Regions from separate parts of the Homo sapiens genome. Here all the other regions are linked to region 1. The links are contacts of gene promoters, found by promoter capture Hi-C in blood cells and fetal thymus (Javierre and others, 2016). All regions are on one chromosome and are shown on one strand. Each heading gives the region's core, a stretch centred on a gene start or on the middle of the fragment in contact. The rest is flanking DNA. Distances are from core to core; before and after follow the strand shown. Region 1 holds the start of HOXA4 (homeobox A4). Region 2 overlaps SKAP2 (src kinase associated phosphoprotein 2). Region 3 overlaps SKAP2 (src kinase associated phosphoprotein 2).

Evidence for each region. Contacts are between HindIII fragments. The CHiCAGO score rates a contact against its expected background, and 5 or more counts as called.
Region 2: a fragment that was not itself captured here is called in contact with the fragment with the promoter of HOXA4 in region 1 in 1 of 17 cell types (neutrophils); the score reaches 5.0 in neutrophils.
Region 3: a contact is called between a fragment that was not itself captured here and the fragment with the promoter of HOXA4 in region 1, in 1 of 17 cell types (megakaryocytes). The highest score is 7.2, in megakaryocytes.

Annotation. Positions count from the first base shown.
Region 1 is chr7:27,129,304-27,132,520 of GRCh38, forward strand. It overlaps HOXA4 (homeobox A4), which reads right to left and starts at 1,454. Exons shown (of 2, transcript NM_002141.5): 1 at 815-1,454; 2 at 1-268. The coding sequence starts at 1,430. The region is part of intron 2 of HOXA3 (homeobox A3); the gene reads right to left. RefSeq lists a silencer at 1,612-1,681. The HindIII fragment of the contact is 1,595 bases long and covers 507-2,101 here.
Region 2 is chr7:26,837,479-26,840,446 of GRCh38, forward strand. All of the region lies in intron 4 of SKAP2 (src kinase associated phosphoprotein 2), which reads right to left. The region is part of intron 2 of LOC124901606 (a long non-coding RNA gene); the gene reads left to right. Among named protein-coding and RNA genes, the nearest start is that of SKAP2, 26 kb to the right of the region's middle. The HindIII fragment of the contact is 2,972 bases long and covers 1-2,927 here.
Region 3 is chr7:26,713,295-26,716,325 of GRCh38, forward strand. The region is part of intron 9 of SKAP2 (src kinase associated phosphoprotein 2); the gene reads right to left. Among named protein-coding and RNA genes, the nearest start is that of LINC02860, 77 kb to the left of the region's middle. The HindIII fragment of the contact is 216 bases long and covers 1,182-1,397 here.

The sequences.
Region 1 (3,217 bases), core at 204-2,703:
CCTGGTGGGCCGGCAGAGGCCGAGGCCGAATTGGAGGATCGCATCTTGGTGTTGGGCAGTTTGTGGTCTTTCTTCCACTTCATCCTCCGGTTCTGAAACCAGATCTTGACCTGGCGCTCAGACAAACAGAGCGTGTGGGCGATCTCGATGCGGCGCCGCCGGGTCAGGTATCGATTGAAGTGGAACTCCTTCTCCAGCTCCAAGACCTGCTGCCGGGTGTAGGCGGTTCGAGAGCGCTTAGGCTCCCCTCCGTTATAACTGGGGTTAACTGAAAACCCAGAACCCCGAAATAGAAGGCCAAGGAGGAGGGAGCGGAAGAGAGGGAAAGGAGGAGGAGAGAGAAGGTGGGGTGGGGAAGAGCAATTGGACATCATCATTATATAATAACCTGACACCAAGTTCACGCAAGATACATAAAACGGCAAAGAAAATGTTTCACAGGCTATTGACAACGGGAAACACCCGAGAGCCATAAAGAATGGTGCTGGGCATTGGGGCTGAAGAAAAGCTTCAAAGACACATGGCCTGAAGCCTCTGCCAGGGCAATTAAATTTATGGGGGCTATAATTACTGCCCTAACAGTTTGGCGTCTCGTAAATCTCCTGATAAAGGGACCCTGGGTACAAAAGGGTTCTCATGTTGGGATCAGGCGGCTGGCTGGCGCGCACATACCCACATCTCACCGCAGCCCGGGTCAGATGGGGGCTCCCCTCCCGAGGCCCCCTTCCCCTGAGCCTCTCCCTCCTGACCCCGACCCTCGAACCCAGGCCCAGCCCCGGCCCACCTCCCGCGCCTCCCAAGCGGCGCCACGTACCGGCGCTGACATGGATCTTCTTCATCCAGGGGTACACCACGGGCTCCTTGCCCTTCAGGCCCAGCGGGCTCTTGTCGGCCAAGAGCAGCGGGCACGCGGGGGCGCTGCCCCCTGCCGGGACGCCTGGGGTGGCGGGGGCCGCCTCGCAGCGCCGCGGGGCCGCTGGGGGCACGGCGCGAGGCTGCAGGGGCGGCGGCAGCTGGGGCTGCAGGACGTGGCTCGCATGCAGGCCGTGCGCTGGGCCCTTGGCTTGCGCCGGGGGCTGCTCGGGCTGGGGCGGCCGCCCGGGGCTGGCGCCGCCGCGGTAGCCATAGGGGTAGGCGGTGTCCGCGGCCCCATGCGCGGGGTACAGCGCGGCAGCAGGGTAGGCGGGCTCGCGGGCGGTCCGCGGCGCGTAGTAGGAGGCAGTGGGCTCTCGGCCGCCGCCCGCGTGAGGGAGCTGGGGCTGCTGCAGCGGCAGGTGCTGGGTCGGGGGCGCTGGGGGCTGCTGGTAGCCGGGGCCCCCGCCCGGGCCGCCGTCTGCGCCGCCCGAGCCGCTGTGCTGCGCGTACTCCTCGAAGGGAGGGAACTTGGGCTCGATGTAGTTGGAGTTTATCAAAAACGAGCTCATGGTCATTAATTTGTGAAGTGCAAAAATACTAATTTTTCTCGCGTTGTCGTTTTTTCTGGGCTTGCCGAGGCCCCTCCCCCTCCTGCCTCGCTTCCCATCCCCCTTTCCTCTGCGCCCTTCCCCTCCCCCCGCTGTCAAGTGCCCACTCCTCCCCCTCCCGCAGACGCCGCCACCAAAGTTCGAGCCGCTCCTCCCCAGCCCAGCGCGCGCCCCGCCCCGTGCCCCACGTGCAGCGCCCCCACCAATGGGCGCACCGCGCGCGCGGACCCGGATCAGGAAACGCGCGGGTGCGTGATGGATGCTGCTGTCCGGCCCCTGGGCTGGGGGAGGGAGCAGGAGCTTTGGACCCCAGCCCCCCAGCTTTGGTTCCCGCTGGGAATTCAGGCCCTGTCAGGCTGTAGGTCCTCTCGGGAGCCCTCTGCCTGCCCTACTGCTGGCCTAGGCCTCGGGCTGTCTGGCGGCCGCGACTCAGCGCTGACCTCGGGCGCAACCCAGTCAGGCTTCGTGTCCTTCAGGGGTTCTAGGCTAACAGGCGAAAGGAAGGGCGTTGGGACCGAGGGGCATCCTGGTTTTTATGTACGCCACTGAGAGGCCACCAGACACATTTTCTCAACCGCAGATCCCCCTTCCCCACACCCTGCTCCTTGCGTGTCAGCCTGAGAGCCCTTGCTTTGAGAAGCTTGGCAGAAGCTGCAAAGGGTGGGCGGGCAGCTAAGAGAAATCGACCCAAGGATGTAAATCGAGGCCATTCCATTATAACTGGATGGACACTTTTCATTTTTTCCTTCTTTCAGAGACAATCTGTTTCGTGTTTTCCTAAGAAAAATTGGAACCTTCGTAATAGCATCTAATTTGACGGGGGTTGTCGATGTGAGAGCTAAATATGCCCGCATTTACTAGGTGCGATTGTGAGAGAGAAGGTGGCCCAAGGATGGGAATGGATAGAAGCAACACCTCCACAGAACCGAGCTTTGAAAACAATAACTTCCTATTTCAGAACTATCCCCAAACAAAAACAAGCTAAGGGTAGAATAAACACCTTGCCGGGTCTGATCGCTGATGGGTCTTTTCCAGCTAAGAATTTCATGTTTTCTCTTTTAGATCCTGCTTTCTCAGGCAGTATCTGAGGCTAGAGTTATATTTGCAGGACAGTCTATAATTTCTGAATTGCTGAAAATTAGCGTATTAACGATATCAGAAGCTCCGGAAAGGAGGGAGAGGAGACTGTTGCCTGCTATTTGGTAATTGAAATTTGATGGGTACACTAATTACGCCATTATTAACAAATAAATTACTTATTAATTCCACCTAATGTTGATCTTTGAAGTAAATACTGATGCCTTATTTGTGCTGTGTGCTTTCTCCCTTTCTTTTCTGAGTAGTAGACATATCTAGATCCTCTACTTTTCAGCCTAAATTAAAGCAGTGTAAACTAGCATAGTCACCATTCTAAAAATATTTTCATATTGGCATGCAAAAGCAAGGATTTTTCAGCTGGTGCACCTTAGTTGATTTTTCAAAGAGCAGTATAAACAGCCTTCTCACAACTGAGTCTGGAACGCAGACAAGGAAAATTATTTCCTAAGCCTGGAGACACTTGAAAAGGAATGTCAATTCTATCTTCATTCATACTGGTTACTCATATGAGTTACTAAATGCTGGAATATATCCATTTGATGGATAGTCACTTAATGCTTAGCCACATAAAGCCTATTATATGGGACTAATCTTTAAACTAATTTAGGAAAAGAGGTTAAAAAGGGGATCATATTAGCTTTCTAACTGGAATCACC
Region 2 (2,968 bases), core at 192-2,691, 290 kb before region 1:
ACGGTAAAAGAACAAGAGACAGAGAGTGGGGTTGGGAGGTGCCACATACTTTTAAATGACCAGATTTCACAAGAACTCACTGTCACGAAGATAGCACGAGGCCATGAGGGATTTGCCCCATGATCCAAACACCCCCCAACAGGCCCCACCTCCAGCACTGGGAATTACAATTCAACATGTGATTTGGGCGGAGATAAATATCCAAACTATATTAGGTGGAGACAGATTTAGCGTTTCTAACAAGCTCCCAGATGATGCTGATACTGTTGGTCTACTGACCATACTTTGAGTAGGAAAGGGCTAGAAAATCACTTCCTTTTCAGTACAATATCCACCTCTCTAGCCCAGAGTCTTATCAACACTCCCTTAATCAAAAGCAGCAGAGCAGTATGCTAGCTGGGGAAGAGGGAAAAAGTAACTCTTTTAAGAGCAGAGCATAATCCTTACAGTTGACAGACATGAATTCAAATTCCAGTTCTGCCACTATGTAGCTATATGCCATTGGGCATATCACTTAACCTCTCTATTTTAGGTTTCCTCATTTGTCAAATAGTGATAGTACTCTACTTCATAGAGATACTGTCATGATTAAAAATAAGTAATGTAGCAAAGCATTTAGCTTGCTACCTCCACTAGATGGTCTCTACGCCTTCATTTAACCTACATTTAACTTCCAGGACAATATCCCTCAAATCTGCATCCCTCACTTCAGTATACTCCTTCAGGGATCTCTTAATGACTACCAAATCAAAGGTAAATTCCTTAATTTGGCATTCAGCTCCTACTATAAATCATGCACCTACCTCCAAGACCCCCTCCACTCCTTCCTATTCAATACCACCTCTGGTCGTCACCCATATCTTCCCCATGCAGATCACCTCACCTCACTGCCACCATTCAATTTACTAATTCTGAAATGTGGGGACACAAGCATTTAGTGCTCTAGGGAACGTCTAAGCAATTACCCGGTTCAAACTCTTCATTTCACATACCAGAAAATAAAAATCCAAAAAGGCCTAAGCAACTTGTCCTTGACAAAAAAGTTATCATCAATTATAATGAAAACCTGGTTTCTGAGCTTGAACTCCAAAAGTTCTTTTCAGTTTGTTTTCCCATTCTCTGCAACAAACCTCAAGACCCACATAAAACTCACTTAAATAAAAGGCCCTCCCTCCACAATCTCTTAGAATTTAGGCATAAAGTTTATGCTGTGGTTTTTTTGACAGGATGCTAAAACATATGGCTGATTCAGCCAATACATCAGGAAGTAAAATCAATGAAACCAACTACTTGCCTTGGTATAGACTAAATCAATTGAATATTGTAGCACGTAGTATTTATTATTTTTGGAATCTGGTTTAATATAACCTAGATTGCTAGTTACCTTATTCTAGGTGATTATCTTCTCCTGCCATCTAGATTACATTTTTCTTAAAAATAGGAACTTTATCTTATTCACCCCCAATTGCCCTGTCCAAGTATCTTGTTCTCCTCTTCATGTACTGTGTAAATAACTGCTAATTTGCTGAATTAAAGATGCATTATTTTTCATAATGTTGAGTTTTACTTAACCTTTGCAGTCTTTCGTATCTAGTCCACTTTGTTATAGTATCATCCGTCCACTCTGTTTTATTCTGATGAATTTTCCTGATCAATAGCATAAAAACTTAGAAAGATAATTCTCAATGGCTATGTGTTTTATTTACTAATATATACCTTTGTATCACAAAAATATTTTACATCTGTGTACTTTATATCCCCAATTGCACAATATATACCTTGAGGATTAAAAATATGTCCTCTACTTTCTGTCATTTCCTCAACTATAATCCCTTCTCTTCCACCAAAATACTTGAAACTGTGCTATACACATAGCACAATGACTAAAATAATCATTGTTATTAAACTGCTAAAACATATATAAGCTAGCAATTTGGCATATTAAGACAACCCAAAAATTTTAAAAACAAAAGTGAAATGTTGATACATGTTATATATGCAAAAATATGTGCAAATTGCAAATTAATTGAATTTTTTAGAACAAAATACAAAAGATAATTTTAGGTGTCAAAAATATGATAGTGGGTTAAAAACACCCTAAATGCTAAGTTATTGAAAAATTTTTTTTCTAGTTTTAAACATTGTTTCATAGTTATCCTAAATGCTAAGTTATTGAAAAAAACCTTTTTTTCCAGTTTTAAACATTGTTTCATACTCTACTGATATGAGAGAAAAGTAAAACATCTATTTCGTGGCTTTTGTAAGAACTGATTAGTGCTACACCTAATTTTACACAAAAAAAGTCTTCCTCAAAAATTTGGTACATTAAATTTATGTTGTGCACACGGACAGGTTTATATCTAAGCCTGTTTTAGACACTTTCTAAGAGCTAATTATTTATAGGCATCCTGGAGACAATCTCTCTAAAGAAATCTGTTGGAAAAAATGATTTACATGCTTTATTAATCCAAATTTTTGTACATTGGATTTTTGTAAAGAAAAGTATACCAAAAAAAATTTTTAATATTATAAATTATGATAATAGTTCAGCCTTTTTCTTAATCCCTGAGATTTAAAAAATAGTTCCATTCCTAAAAAAAAATTTCTTCACACAAACCTGTGTCTCGCAATGCCCACAGCCTTTCAGTAACCTAGGTTATTCAGAAATTTTTAGTTAGAAAGACACCAGGACAATAAATGACTGTTCTATATTTTCAGCTTCATTTTAGCCTTCCTGTATTCACACCCTAGAGGTTTCAGATTTTTATCCACAAAGTGATTATGGTCTAGGACTGAATCAGATTTGTAACATACATCTACTGGGATCCTTCGACCTATCGTCGAGGGGCAGAGCCAATATATGTCTTCTAGCTCACTGAATCCTTTCACCTTACCTTAGAGACTTTCCATAGTGCTATATAGTTAGAAGCTTTCTTTCACAAATGACAAAAATGAATGAAAAATGATT
Region 3 (3,031 bases), core at 40-2,539, 420 kb before region 1:
TATCTTGTGTCACCTACTACAATCTGTAACTATCTTAATAGGGACTAGGTCTGCCTTTTTCATGCCTAAACTCCCAGCACCTAGAACAGAATCTGACATGCAATGGGCTTTCAATAAATATTTGCTGGATGAGTTAATTAAGTGAATAATAATAAGATGACATGAGGAGAAGGTAAGACAAGATAAAAACAAAAAGCTTCAGTATTAGGAAAGGATAGACTGGAAAATAATTTGAAACAATCAGTAAAAAGCAACAGGAAATGTGGAAATGTAATACAGTGCTAAGATGCTTATTTGTTCTTTTTTGTTTTTTTTTTTGTTTTTAGATGGAGTCTCGCTCTGTCGCCCAGGCTGGAGTGCAGTGGCGCGATCTCGGCTCACTGCAAGCTCCGCCTCCTGGGTTCACACCATTCTCCTGCCTCAGCCTCCCGAGTAGCTGGGACTACAGGTGCCCGCCACCACGCCCAGCTCATTTTTTGTATTTTTAGTAGAGACGGGGTTTCACTGTGTTAGCCAGGATGGTCTCTATCTCCTGACCTCGTGATCCACCTGCCTCGGCCTCCCAAAGTGCTGGGATTACAGGCATGAGCCATCGCGCCCGACCTAAGATGCTTATTTGTAAATATAATATGTAAACAAGAAAACAAACTGGAGAAGGGCAAAGGTGGAGACAGTTTCAAGACAAAAGCGGTGGTAAGTAAAATCAAATTTCTAGAGATGAATTTGAGGACCAAGACTGATGATTAGGAGAGTACTGGTGACTCTGAAGAAGCTGGTTTAGTTAAGGAATGAGGATAGAAAACCAAACTGCCTGAGGATAAAGAGTAAGCAGGTGAAGAGACAACAGGAACAAAGGGAGCTCTTCCAAGAATTTGTGTGCTTAAGAGAAGCACGATTAGGTTGTAGTTCCTTGAACCAGGATGTGAAAAGAGGCCCATGCAGGAGGCAGATTTGGGATCTAGTCCAAAAAACTCAGACCTTGCAACTGAATGTCCTTATTATATATATTAAAAAAACTGCCCCATCTTAACTTCTTTAATAAGGAACAAAGGGGCTAATGGATAAGTGGCTATAAGCAGTTGTTATTTCTTCGTAAAAATTCTAATGAAGTTCTAATAAAGAGGAAAACATCTATAAACGAATGTTTTATTTGAAACAAAATTAAGGTAAAATTTCACTTAAGCTTGATTAAGTTAAATTGGATTTTTTCCCATTTTGTTGAAAGTTTTACATTACTCAGCTGTAGCACTTGCCGAGGCCAGATATGAAGAGTGCTTATATTTATCACTGACATTTTGTTGAACTTGTTCATTCTTATTAATCACTGCTTTAAAGTAAGCAGCTGAGTACTCTTAGGAAGTTGATATTCCCAGCTGACCTATCTGCAAAAATAGTGAAGCTTGATACTCTCTTGCTGCAGTCTGTCTCTATAGATGTATGTGTTCGTGTGGCTATGTGTACATATGTGTGTATTTTTTTTTCTGGGATTAAAGAAGCAAATACATTTTCGTGAAGCTACTACAAACTTTATCATATTCTATCTTCTGAAAGAATGGATGAATTAAAAACAAAAGCAGGCTGTGATCTGTTTATATTCTATATGGGAGACAAATCATATCTGAAGAATGAAGACTCCAGTTTAAAAGTCTGATATGAAGACTGTTAGAAGCTATGTCTTTACTTGTTGAGATTTCTTGGTGGCAAAGGATAAAACACTTGATTATGTTCAGATACAAATCCTATCGTGTGAATATCTGACCTTCTGGTACAGTGTTAGGATTTTTCATCCAGGATTCACAGAAAAAACATAAAAGCCTAGCCCCATTAACATAATTTTTCTTTTTTCTTTACAAATATTAGCATTTTAATTTGATTAAAGTGGTTGACATTTGCTTATCTTCTGGTTCAGAATTTTAATATGTATTCTATTGGTTCCCTCAGCAATGTAAACATATGTATGTGACTCTAAAAGTTTTGAATTCAATGGCTAAGTGATCCAAACCATCAATAATTTCTAGTGATTCTATTTGGTTCTTTAAAAAAATCTGATCTTTTTTTTACAGGATCTTTTTCTCTTGTTAAAGTTTCTTTTCCTTATTTTATCCTTGAATCATTGTAAATAATGTTGATTTTATAGCCTTTATAGTTCTGTCATCTCCAGTTCTTTGGGGATTAATTCTCCCCAAAGAATTAATAACATGGCCAAGCACAGTGGCTCAAGCCTGTAATCGCAGCACTTTGGAAAGCCGAGGCGGGTGGATCACCTGACGTCAGGAGTTCAAGACCAGCCTGGCTAACATGGTGAAACCCCGTCTCTACTAAAAATACTAAAATATTGGCCAGGCATGGTGGTGCACACCTATAATCCCAGCTATTCGGAAGGCTAAGGCAGGAAAATCACTTGAACCCAGGAGGTGGAGAGTGCAGTGAGCCGAGATCATGCCATTGCACTCCAGCCTGGGTGACAAGAACAAAACTCTGTTCCCTCCCCCAAAAAAAGAGTTAACAACAATGCTACAATGCTACAAGTTGTTATTTGTACTAATTTCAGTGTATTTCATATGGAAAACTACATATTTTGTCATTTCCATTGTAATTTCCTCTTTTAACTCATGAACTATTATTTTTTCAGCTTCCAAACACATGGGTTTGGGTATTTTCAACTACCTTTTCAGAGTTGGCTCTTAATTAAATTTAATTGTAGTTAAAGACCATAGTCTGTATAACACAGATTCAGTGTAATTTGTTGAGAGTTTAACTGTGAACACATATGTAGTCAATTTCTATGATTATTCTATGTGTACTGAATGAACAAATATTCTCTACTATGCAATGTTACTTTATATCTTTTTGATAGATTATTAATTTTGTGGTTAAATCTTTATATCCTTACTTATTTTTTGCCTCCTTGGTCTATCAGTTTTTGAAAGGGGTATCTTAAAATTTCCCACTATGATTAAGAACTTGTCAAATTAGTCTTATATGTTTTCGTGTTATAGATATTAGGGTTATATAGTTAGATGAATTTGAG